Linked DNA regions of Homo sapiens: region 1 is linked to region 2. Evidence: promoter capture Hi-C in 16 types of primary human blood cells and fetal thymus (Javierre and others, 2016). All regions are on one chromosome and are shown on one strand. The core of a region is centred on a gene start or on the middle of the fragment in contact, and the rest is flanking DNA. Distances in the headings are between cores, read along the strand shown.

The links. The method cuts DNA at HindIII sites, captures the fragments that hold promoters and counts their contacts. A CHiCAGO score of 5 or more calls a contact.
Region 1: a contact is called between a fragment that was not itself captured here and the fragment with the promoter of ZRANB2-AS1 in region 2, in 2 of 17 cell types (naive CD8 T cells and total CD4 T cells). The highest score is 9.0, in naive CD8 T cells.

What each region holds. Positions count from the first base shown.
Region 1 is chr1:74,710,647-74,716,881 of GRCh38, forward strand. CRYZ (crystallin zeta) reads right to left here. Exons shown (of 9, transcript NM_001889.4): 5 at 3,933-3,984. Among named protein-coding and RNA genes, the nearest start is that of CRYZ, 19 kb to the right of the region's middle. The HindIII fragment of the contact is 3,662 bases long and covers 1-3,542 here.
Region 2 is chr1:71,045,046-71,051,268 of GRCh38, forward strand. ZRANB2-AS1 (ZRANB2 antisense RNA 1) reads left to right here and starts at 1,461. Exons shown (of 3, transcript NR_038420.1): 1 at 1,461-2,544; 2 at 3,769-3,943. PTGER3 (prostaglandin E receptor 3) reads right to left here and starts at 2,771. Exons shown (of 4, transcript NM_198719.2): 1 at 1,636-2,771. The coding sequence starts at 2,532. RefSeq lists an enhancer at 2,185-2,768. The HindIII fragment of the contact is 6,286 bases long and covers 1-4,618 here.

The DNA.
Region 1 (6,235 bases), core at 462-2,961, 3.7 Mb after region 2:
GATGATCAGAACATGCTCTCTGACTTCTTTGTGCATATGAAATTCTAAATAACAAATGTAAGGCCTCCACCATTTAAGTAGAAGAGATAGGTATATGGGCAAATTAACTAATTCATCCATATGGTGAATGTTTATAGAGTGTTTACGATGTGCTAGACATGGTACTTAATGTAAGAAATAAACTTATATTCTAAGGGTGGAGGAAGATAATAGTCATATGAATGAATAAAATAAATTCAGGAAATAAAAGTGCTAAGAAAAAATAAGACTGGCTGTTGGGTTAAAGAGACAGGAATAGGGGCTATTTAGGTCATCAGGAAGAGCCACTCTGAAAAAATGAGACCTGAAAAAAGTGAGGAACAAGCCACGAGAACATCCGGTCAGCCACGTGGAGGATGCTGTGGGCATAGTGAATGGCCATGGCTAACCTGGCGAGGTGGGAATGCAGTTGGGGTCAAAGAACAGAAAGAGGGGCAGTGTGTCTCAGGGAGGGGCGTGTACGAAAGGGTCGAAGATGAGGCCAGAAAGGCCAAGTCACACAGAATCTGAGGGGTGAGGGTAGAGGCTTCCGAGTATATTAAAACCTGTGCAGAACCACGGGAGAGCTTAAGCCAGGAAATGATCTGGTTGACTCAGGCTTTAAAAAGGTTGCTCCAATTACATGTGAGGCACAAAGAAAGCGGTGAGGAAAATGGGAGGAGGAAGATCAGTTTGTAGCTGTTAGAACAGTCTAGATAAGAGATGAAGCTGGCTTGAACAAAGGTGGTGGCACTGGAAAAAATAAACAAATTCAGATATAGTTTAGAGGTAAGCTAATGGGACTTCCTCACAGATTGAATGCGGGAGATGAGGAAAAGAGAAAAATACAGGCTGTCTCCTATGTCTTTGGCCAGATTAACTGGGTAGAGTGAGAAGACTGGAGAACACTAAGTTTGTGAAAATCTCCAGATTTCACTTTGCCAAGTGTGGTGGCGCATGCCTGTAATCCCAGCTATGTGGGAGGCTGAGGCAGGAGGATCGCTTGGGCCCAGGAATTTGAGGAGTTTGGGATTGCAGTGATCATGCCACTGCACTCCAGTCTGGGCAACGGAGCAAGACCCTGTCTCTAAAAAATAAAAATAAAAGAATCACTTGTAACATGCTGAGCTGCACAGTGCTCATCTACTTACGGGCGAAGATGTTCAGCAATCAGTTGAATATGAGTATGGACTCAAAAGGGTTCAACTGGAGATATATATTAGAGATTCATTATCTTACGGATGGTATTTAAAGCCAAAGGATTAGGTGGAACATGGTGGCTCATGCCTGTAATCCCAGCACTTTGGGAGGCTGAGGTGAGTGGATCACCTGGGGTCAGGAATTCGATACCAGCCTGGGCAACCTGGCAAAATCCCAGCCTCCCAAAATGCTGGGATTGTAAGAAATCACTAGAATACCAGATAAATGTGCTTAGTATAAAAGAGAAATCAAAGTAATTTAAGAATATAGACAAAAGAGCAATTACTTAAATAACAATACTAGGAAATATATCTGATTAGATGACAAATGATGGTACAAATAAGTGTCACATACATTTAGAGCAGAGTTTCCCAAACTTGGCACTATCAACATTTTGGGCCAGATAATTATTTGCTGTGGGAGACTATCCCATGTATTGAAGGATATCTACTCTCTAGATGCCAGAACCCCTTCCCCAAGTTGTGACAACCAAATATGTCTTCAGACATTGCCAAATGTCCCAGAGCGGAAGGAGAAATGATGCAAAATCACCCGCTACTCATAACCAGTGATTTACAGGGAGGACCGGGTTCGGCAAGAAAAGAATTAAGATGAAAAATAATGATAGAAACAGATTAAAGCTGTAACAGACTTCCAGGCCTGAAGTGGACCTTAAAGATTGTATGGCACATGGGAATAACGAGGCTGGACTCAGCCAGGTTATGGCAGGAATTTGTTTAACTGAAACAAACAAATACATGAAACTCACTGTCTGATGGAGGAGAGAGACATCCAATTAGATAAAACACAACCCACTATGGGGTGGGCACAATTAATTTTCTATTTTAATTTTCAAATTTAAATAAAAGACCTCTAATAAAACCACACTTTAAAAAGCTAACGTAACTACATCTCCTTGTGTTCTAACTGCTTTAAAAGGGCACTCAATAGCTCTTTTAAAAAGGCACTGTTTATTCTATTCTTGTCAACAATTATACCAGCAATGATCCTTCAACAGATTATGCACCATTATGTGTCAACTATTTTTCTTCTACTTATTTTGCTAACACTAAAATAGGGCACTCCTCACCAACATATCTGGATAATAGCTGTGTTCATAAATTCCACACCATTTTAAACACACAACATAATCCCAAAGGAATTCGAATTAAATGAGGACAGAAAGTACAAACAGAAGCAAGGCAAAACCCAGTACTGTTTCCCTCTGATAGGACAGGGAGGATCAGAAGCACTTCACACACCAGGTCACCAGCCTATCCCTGCCAGCTGAGGATTTAACAAACTCAGCCAGCTCAGAGAACAGTGTGGATTTTACCTTAAAAAAAAATCATGGTGAAGCAACTGGGCTTTTTACAAGAGGGTAAAGGGAATATAAAGAGATTTTCTTTAAACTCTTCTCTCCCCTTCCTACTGAAATCTTTCCCTTCTGCACAGAGCACTAAGTTAGCTCTCTGAAAGCCAGGGTAATTTAAATAAATGTATGTGTTTGACAGACCCTTTAGTTACTTAGGGTTAAATTTAATTTAACCCAAAAATAGCCTCTTCAGTGAAGTTAAACAGTGGGAGTTTTGGACAAGGTATATCTGTCATATTGTCTCAAGCCCCATAAAGACAATCCTAGTGTTTTTTCATAAATTGTTTGATCTGTGAAATCCTTTAGAATTGATCTATTTGAAGTGTAGGAAGCTAGGTGTGAAACCTCGTGATTCATCTACCTAAAGAAACAGAGAGACAAAAAGGACTGAAATTACCTGGGCACTTTTAAAGGTAAATTCACATTTTCAGGATACCACTCATTATTCAGGGGACTATGTGCCATTTAATAGGTTACTTCTTTCAATCCACTCTCCAGAATACACAGTGCTCTGAAATGGTTAACAGCCTCCTCAAAGTAAGCATCTAGCCCCAGGCCTTTTATTTTTAAAATGCAAAATCTTATCTCCAAAATTTCCAAAGCATCCAGTGACAGAGTTCATGTGGATTTCTTGTTAAATTCTAACTGCAGAGCTCTAACTTTTCCCTCTAAGCTCCTGAGAGGCAGATTGGCAGCTAGTTTCTCGAAGAGGTTTCTGACAGCCCTGCATTGGGTGATTTCATTGAAGGGCTTATTTTAAGTTCTGAGTCCTCCTCCCCCATTCCCCCACATTAGCATTTTCAGCCATGGGTTGTGGTGTTAAGGACAGGGCTGTATACGTGCACTCCATGGATGTCATCAAAGTGCAGCAGGCAAGCAGCAGAAGGGAGATAGAAGGACTAAGAATTCACAGTGTGGCTTTACCGTGCTGTCTGGGGCAACATAGGTAAGCTTTAATGAGCCTTAGTTTCCTTATCTAAGGGAATATGGAATTAATATCAACCTTAAAGAACTGTTTAAAATTCTAAATAAATATTTTTATAACATATGCTACTTGAAGGCAAAAACAAGGCCAGTTTATCTTAGTCTACACCCAATACAGGTGGAAAATCTAACATATTTTTGAAGGGGTGCTCTGTTGAGTTTATTAACCAAGAAATGCTAAACTAATGACAAAACATCACCTTCAGAAGACCAAAATCAAAAGTTTTACTACATAAAGAAAAAAAGCACCTTTGACTCTATTTATAAATCTGACTTTTAAAAATGACCAAAGGAACTATAATGTGAAACCCATAAACCCAAGCTTGTTTCAAAATACATTAAAAAAAATACTTACTCCTCCACTTGCCCCATGAACCAGAACACTCTCTCCAGCTTTCACACAGGCACTGCAAAGGAAAGCATAAGTTACATCACCTTATTTTTTGAAGCTAATTAATCTCGGGTGTTTTCATCATCTTAAGGAATTTCTACCCCTAGTCTGGCTAACACTTACACAAACAGCAAATGCAACCTGACATACAGCCCCAAATATTCCCTAAGCTCCACAGAATAAACAAAGCCTTCAATTCATTTATTCCTTGAACAAATATTTATTGGGAGTCTTTATGTTCCAGGCACTATGCTGCTGGACACTGGGATGACTATGTGGTGCTACTTCTGAGTGGCTACAGTCCTTGTGGGTTGTGAAGTAAAATTGCTGAGCCTGGAGGATCTGGAATCTCTCATTCCCATATATCCCCCACAGAAAGGGCCTCAAAGCAGGTTTATTATATAGCTCAGTCTTTATTCTGTGGTCTAGAGTAATGTCCAAGTAAACACAGTAGCTATTTTTTTTGCCCAAGGAAAGAAAGAAATTTTTCTTCTCCATGTCTCTGAACATCAGGTTGCACCAGCCTTGTACTCTTTCAGGGAGGAATGCTGAGTTAGCAAAGGTCAGAGAGTAGGAAATGCAATAAATTCTATCACAAAGATTCCCATGTCATCCCCCTGAAATGTCCAGATTCTCTGGTGAAATGGCATTTTCTTTTTACTTCCAGTTCACATGACTACTTTTCTAGTATGTACTGAAAAGAAGGGACATGCAGCAAGGCATGAGGGGATGCCTCACTATTCCAGATGGACGGTGCCAATGTCAAAAGCCAGCAGATGCTGTGAGATCCAGATCTGACTCTCAGGAAGGCTCTCTTACTTCCTCAAACAATGTGGGGTGGCCACACTGCAGAGACATTATAGAACATTATGCTCCACCTGGGAAAGAGAACAGTAACCAGAGTCCTGCTCCCAGCTATGCACCAACAGCTGAGAAGTGGCAACAATGAGCAATAAGTGAAGCTTTCTCCCACACTCTTGCTTAGAGCTGAAGGGACTGAGGACAATATGTTAAAGTAAAACATAAACATAAGGGGATAGGATGACTAGTGTTAAACTATGGGATATGAAATACCTCCCAAAGAAATTTTTCAAAAATTCTTATAAGATGCCCCTCAAACACTAAAGACACATTCTCATAAATCCCTGGGGCCTGGGGTGAGGGGAGAAAAAGCAGGCAAATCCCCTCCTGAATCCTTGCACAGAGTCGCTGTGACAGTTAATTTTATGTGTCAACTTGACTGGGCCAAGGAACCCAATATTTGTTCCAACATTACTCTGTTACAGAAACAGTGTTTTTTTTTTTTTTTCGAATGAGATTAACAATGGAATAGCTGGATTTTGAGTAAAGCAGATGACCCTCTAGAATGTGGGTGGGCCTCATCCAATCAGTTGAAGGCTTTTGTTTTCAAAGACTGACCTCCGATGAGCAAGAGTAAATTCAGCCAGCAAACTTTCTATGGACTTAAACTGCACCTCTTCCTTGTGTCTCCCATCTGCTGGCCCACCGCAACAGATTTTAGACTCACCAGTCCTCCACAATTTCATGGGTCAACTCTTTAAAATCAATCAATCTGTGTGCGCGTGTGTGTGTGTGTGTGTGTATGTGTACAGAGTGACTGATTCTTAAGGAATTTATATAGAGATAAATGATAGATCAGATCAAATAGAAGATCAAATAGATAGATGATTGACTGATAGATAGACAGACAGACACACATCCCGTTGTTTGTTTCTCTGGAGAACCCTGACTAATACAGTCATCTTCCCTGGTGCTCATAACACTCAGCCTGGCCTTCCATGCTGCTGTCCTTTACCATCTTCTAGTCACTGAAGACTAAGACCTGGCACATAGGCTTTCTCTCCCACCCCAAATCCAGCTCCAATCAAGGAGACACTGCATTCCCCAGAAAGAAAATCAAGCATCACAGTTCCTGAATTTTCCTCCACTTATAGCCACTCTCTCCCAGGGCTTAACTACCAGCAACCATTCTCCCTGAGAAATATCAGATGCCAATAACCAATATTATGACAGTAATTTATCCTAATTCTGAAAACCCATATTCTCTCAAAATCTTTCTTCAACTATGCAGAGATTACTGACTCTCAATAGCTCCATTTCTGCCCACTTGCTGCTCCAGGCCTTCCTTCCGTCCCTACTCAGCCTGGACTCCATAGATTGCCCAGCCTCCTCTCCCCGCAGCCCCTGTGCTCTCATTTCTTTTGCACCATTCAATTTTGCCACCAGCATTCTAGCCCTGGATTAAT
Region 2 (6,223 bases), core at 211-2,710:
GCTGGTTTTGATAAGCCATAGTGATGACATCAGCCTGAGTTCCAACTCCTGGAATAAAGAACTGTGACCATACAGCGACTTGTGGGCAGTTAGGTCTCAGCATAACACTCCTTGTCCCCTCATGTCACTGATTTGGAGCCAAGGTTTGTGCTCCAATCTACCAAACCAGGTTAAAGAAATTACATTTCTATTTTCAAATGCAAGGGATTTAAAAGTATACATGGCGCACAAAAAACTCAACGTACTTAATGCCTAATGCCACTGAACTGTACACATAATAATGGTTAAAATACTGAATTGTATGTAATATATTTTACCATAATTAGGAAAGAAAAAAAACTGCGTTCACGTGTTTCAAAGGTTTTCCACAACTGTATAATACATATAGTTGGTTATACCTTTGTAACAGTGACCATATCGCTCTTTCTGCAACATCTATTAACCCAGACACCCCAGGGCCTAAGTAAGCATCCATTCTTCAGGAATTAGTAAACAGCACTTACACACGGACATTTCTAGCTAAAAGTAACACAGACAAAAAAACCTCAAAAATATCACGTAAGGGCAGGTGTTAGGCAAAGAGCCTCTGCAAACATCCCTTGCTCCTCTGCATTGCTCTGGTGTGAGGAGCTAGGACATGGAGAAACCTCTACCTCCTATCTCAGGATTAGCGAACCCTGCTTGAGTGCTACAAGGGTAAGTAAATGCTGGCCTGAAGAAGCTGCTGAGCTTCCGGATCCCACTGACTGTCGTTCGGGCACTTCCTAGAGGGTCAAGCACCATGGCGAAAGGCTGAGGAGGCAACTCGTATCTTTCATTCTCCTGCCTCATCAAGAATGAACCTTGAAGGCACCCATAGGTCGCGCAGTCTTTCAGAAGCTGCAGGAGGGCTGTGACTGTATGGGGTTGCAGACTGAAAATCTTATTAACGTGAAAGAGGAATTTGAAATTAAAAAAAAAAAACCCGGCCGGGCGCGGTGGCTCACGCTTGTAATCCCAGCACTTTGGGAGGCCGAGGCGGGTGGATCACGAGGTCAGGAGATCGAGACCACGGTGAAACCCCGTCTCTACTAAAAATAAAAAAAAAAAATTAGCCGGGCGTGGTGGCGGGCGCCTGTAGTCCCAGCTACTCGGAGAGGCTGAGGCAGGAGAATGGCGTGAACCCGGGAGGCGGAGCTTGCAGTGAGCCGAGGCTGCGCCACTGTACTCCAGCCTGGGTGACAGAGCGAGACTCCGTCTCAAAAAAAAAAAAAAAAAAAAACCCCACAATATCAGGCTACAGTTATCATAGCAATTCTGCTTTTAATGCACTCAGGACAAACTTCTAGCTCTGCATATATGTCATTTCAATGACACATCCTGTCTCCTACCCGACTAGAATGTGAGCAGCCCTGTGATCTCTATGTGCTCATAAACAGTGCCTAATGCGAATCCTGGCTCTTGGAAGGCGCTCAGCTAGTAAGTGAGGAGCTCAGCTCTGAAGCTGTAACCAAGACCGCGCGGGCAGGAGGAAAGGACACTTCAGCGCTCTGCGGTTGCAAACACACCCCTGCGGGTGCTGCCACTTAGCAAAGTCTTAGGTTCCCGCTTACTCGCACACGCATCCTGACTTCCCCCAACCCTGGAACTACCTACCAGGAGCGGAGACCAGCAGACCGACAGCACGCACATGATCCCCATAAGCTGAATGGCCGTCTCGGTCGTGATGCGGCCCCACTGGGCACTGGACTGAGATGCCGTGGCCTTGGCCCGGCAGCGGGACACCAGGGCCTTAATGGTGGCCAGGTTGCAGGAAAAGGTGACTGTCAGCGCCAAGAGCCCCAGGAAGGCAAAGGCAGAGGCGAAGAAAAGGTTGCCCCAGTTATGCGAAGAGCTAGTCCCGTTGCCCCCTCGCCCGGTGCTGATGAAGCACCACGTCCCGGGCCACTGGACGGTGTACTGGCCCACGCCCAGCACCGGCAGCAGGGCGAAGGCGAGCACGGCCAGCCACACGCCGAGCAGCACAGCGCGGGTGGCACGCGTCTTCATGTGGCTCGCATACCAGTGCGGCGCCCTGATGGCCAGCGCCCGCTCGACGGCCATGGCGCTGGCGATGAACAACGAGGAGAGCCCGAAAACAGTCATGGTCAGCCCGAAAAAGGTGCAGAGCCGCCCCGACGGGTCGATGTGCTCCCAACGCTGCTTGGACAGGTACACGACGATGACGACCGGGGTGGTGAGAAGCTGCCCGACCAGGTCGGTGAGCGCCAGCCAGCCGATGCACAGCAGGAAGGACTTCTTGCGCTTGCTCTCCCGGCGCCGGTAGCTGCGCGACACGAGCAGCATGGCCAGTGCGTTGCCCACGAAACCAGTGAGCAGCATGGTGATCGGGAAGGCCACGGACACCGATCCGCAATCCTCGCCAGACCCTGGAGGGCGCGTGAGGTTGCCCCGCGCCTCGGCGGAACGCTCGGGCGCCCACATGCCTGTGTAGGAGTGGTTGAGGCGGGTGCAGAAGGGGGCATCCCCTCCGTAGCCCCGGGTCTCCTTCATGTTGGCTTCGAGGTGAGGAGGGGATGGCGTCCAGAGAGCCGCAGCGGGAGGGGGCAGACGCGGCGCGGGCGGCGGCGGAGGTCGGCGTTTACCGCGGCTGGGGCTGGGCTGCCCCCCATGGTGCGGGGCGCAGCCGCCGCCCTACTCCGCTGCTGGGACCGCGGCCGCGGCGGCGCCAGGGCTCACTGGCCCGGGAGGGAGCCACGCCTTCCTCTCTGGGAAACCTCTGGTGGCGAGGCGCGCGGAGGTGCCGAGTCCCCTTTATAAGGCCGAGGGGGCGGGGCGCCCGTGGGTGTGGACAGAACCGAGGTGGGAGGAGGGTGCAAAGCAACTGAGCGCCTCTCTTGGCTGTTGCCTATCCTGATCGCCTGGGTTGGGAAGCCCCAGACGGTCTCCTCTGAAACGCCCTGCTCCTGGCCGGACCGGGAGCCCACTGGGGTCTCCTCCAGTTCTCCGCTAAAGTGTCGGTGGACGGCAAGCAGCTAATAAGTAGCACTGGACTTGCGGACCCCAGGCAAACTGCCGAGGCGCACCTGAGCGCTCGTCCTCCTGCTTCTTCAACCACAAACGCTCCTACAGGGACGGGATCCTTCTCCTGAAGTCCTTTAGTAACTCTGGTAAAGTGAAAATCGCCTGTCCTTAAGCAATCCACACAAGCCTTTGCATAGCTGATCGTTAACTTTTTTCCTTTCTGCTTTGTGACTCTAGAGTGATTATAAAAAGGCCAAGGTGTCCTGTCCCCTGGGGTGCCGCTGAAAACTATAAAATTACTAGACAGTGCCTGTAGACTTAAGGGAATAGACACAGGGAAACAAATACATCGGATGGTTGAATTCCAAGACCAAGAAATCCCAACTACTACCCCTCGCCTAATCCTGCCCGCTCCCCTCCCCACCACCCAACAAAAAGGTCAGCTATGGCAAAAGTGGCTACAGGAAGGTGGCATCAATTTGCATATCTGAGGTAGTGAAATCAACTGCTCCCAGCCTATGGGAGTGAGAGGGGAGCAGAAGAGAAAGGTATTCCTTACAAAGCCTCCAACCATCCTTCTTATCTTCATACAATAAGAACTAGAAAAGGTATTCAGATGTTATGAAGGCCTTAATCTATATGGAAACTTTGCCTTTGAAATAATAAACATTGAATGAAAATAGGCATACTTGCTTGCCTCGTAACATCTTTCAGTAAGCCAATATTTTATGTACTTCTCACAAGCATTTTCTCATTTTATCACAGAAATCCTCCAAGGTACTATTGCTATTATTATTTCCCTTAAAGGTGGGGTAACTGAGGCCCCATGAAGTTAAAGAATGTTCCTGAAGTCTCTCAGCAATTCTCAAGTCCCATCTTATTTGAAGCATGTATTCCTGACATGGGTCCCATAACTGCTCTCAGCAGATGAATATTAACGGTGAGATCATCTTCCCCTAATCTTGGGAAAGTCTTGTGTTTTTTGCTTTTTGCCTTTTTACACTGTCTAAGAGATGAAAAGATTTTTAAAAATAATTGCAAAGTTCATTTTTCCTCATATTTAAGAAATTAGACTTAATCATATAGCACTCTAAAGACCATTATTTTGATTGACACAGATCAACTTTCAGAACAAGCCCAATCAGTTTTGCCTTTCCTAGCTTAGCTGATGTTCTGTATGGGTGTTCTTAACTTTTAAATTACTGTTAAGAGGTAAGAATGGGATATGTCCCTCTGCATACTTTATGTGCTGTTGTCTTGATTCTGTATGAGAGTTTGAAAAAATATCACTATAACATTATATGTTTTTTAAAGAAGGAAAAGCAAGAATGCAACTTAAACTCCATTTTAATAAGATGCATTAATCACAACATGAATTTCATTTTGTGTTTTGCTGTCATTTAAAAATGTTTTGCACTTTTGCGTTTTACTGACTAAAATGTCACGTTTACAATGGGAACAACAGCTAGGAAGGGTGAAATGGTTTGATTCTAAAATCTTCCGTAAACTTTTGTCTTATTATTTTGAATTAATCTCAAACCTGTATTTGGGATAGTATTTTTCTAGCCTAATATCATTTGAAAATAAAATAATATTTGAGGTTATTCTTAGACAAAGCTTTATCCAAAGCATTTGGATGAAAGTGGCTATCAAGTTTATACCATCTATAGTTAGTAAAATTCTAGTGTAATTCAATATTTAAAATTTAAGACCATATCACCATTCACACAGCAAAGGAAGCAAGGCTTATCTTTTTCCAGTTACATCAAAAACTATTCTCATTTTTATTCACAAATATTTGACTTCTTTGAAACTTTTACTTCTCCCACTGAAGTGCTTGCTGTAGCCAATTGGACTTGATAAGCATGGTAAGCGTCGGGGCATGTATTAGTAAAGAATTGTTAGCCTCTCACTAACCTCTATGCCAATGAACAAAATGTGTTGCATTTCAGATAATTTGGGTATTTCTCTTCTTTCAGCACTTTGCTTCATCCTATATTGTCTGCCTTTAGCTATTCACCTTGTAAACAAGTGACTGTGAGGTTTTGTGGAGTAACAGTGTGAAGCTGGCAGTTGGATTCTGGTTGGTACTTTCTGGTCAGTTACTACGGATATAGTGTGAATTGTGTTGGTCTGAAACAACACCACCCTCTAGTGACCAAAAGGCTAATAACATGCTTTATGCTGTTTTAAAGAGAATTTCCATAGGGCCAATGGATGCTTTGCTTAGGGAATCTCTGATTTCTTTCCTAGAGATCTACTTATCAGTACATAATTGTGGTCACTTTGTTTTCCTTTGAGGTTACAAATTGGCAACTTTGTTTAACAGTCAATAAACCAGTAGAGGATTAAACTGAAAGACCAGATATTCATTTTTTTTTAATTTAAAGTATATATTCACCTATTATGTTTTCAATGAAATTCTAACCTGGACATGTTTTAAATTCACAGATTACTTAATTGTACCCTACAGCTTAAAATGTATAATGTATGTCAATATTTAGCTAGTGATGATGAATTTATTTTGCTATTTACTTCTATTAAACATCTATTTAAAAATCTTAAATATGGATACAAAATAAGATTAATAATGAGTCACATGATCAGCCTTTGATTGCCTCACTATGGATGGAAAATATCTGAAAGTCTTTCTTCATGGAGCCAACCAGTAATTTTAGTTTATATTTTAGTCATTCATTCATTCAATAACCATTCATTGAGCACCCAATCTATGTCAGACACTGTTTCAGTCATTAGGGATACAAAAGCAATACATAACAGTGCCTATATTCATGGGGTTTATATTTTAGTGCAAAATTACTGATTCTAAGTGCCAAATAACAGGAGAAACACTGATCCCATGGCTTTTGTCTTCTCAGAATGATTGTCATGGAAGTACAGTGCAATGTAGACTTAACATTTAAACATCAATCAATGTAATTACTGTATCAAAATAAAAGCAATGCCTAGAAGTCTTTGCTAGATCAAAGAGTCCCTTTCTATGAATGCCTTTTCTGCTGTCTTTTCTTCCTATTCTTTACATGCCTGTTTTTTTTAATTGAAAACTGGACATTGTAATATATTGTAATGACTCTGGAGTCTACCGGGTTTTTTTCCCTGAGTATTATCTATTTTATGTTTGTTTGCTCTGTTTGACAGTTAACTTGTCCGGATTCAAACTGCCAATATTGCCTCCCATGGGGCATGCTGCTCTTGGTAT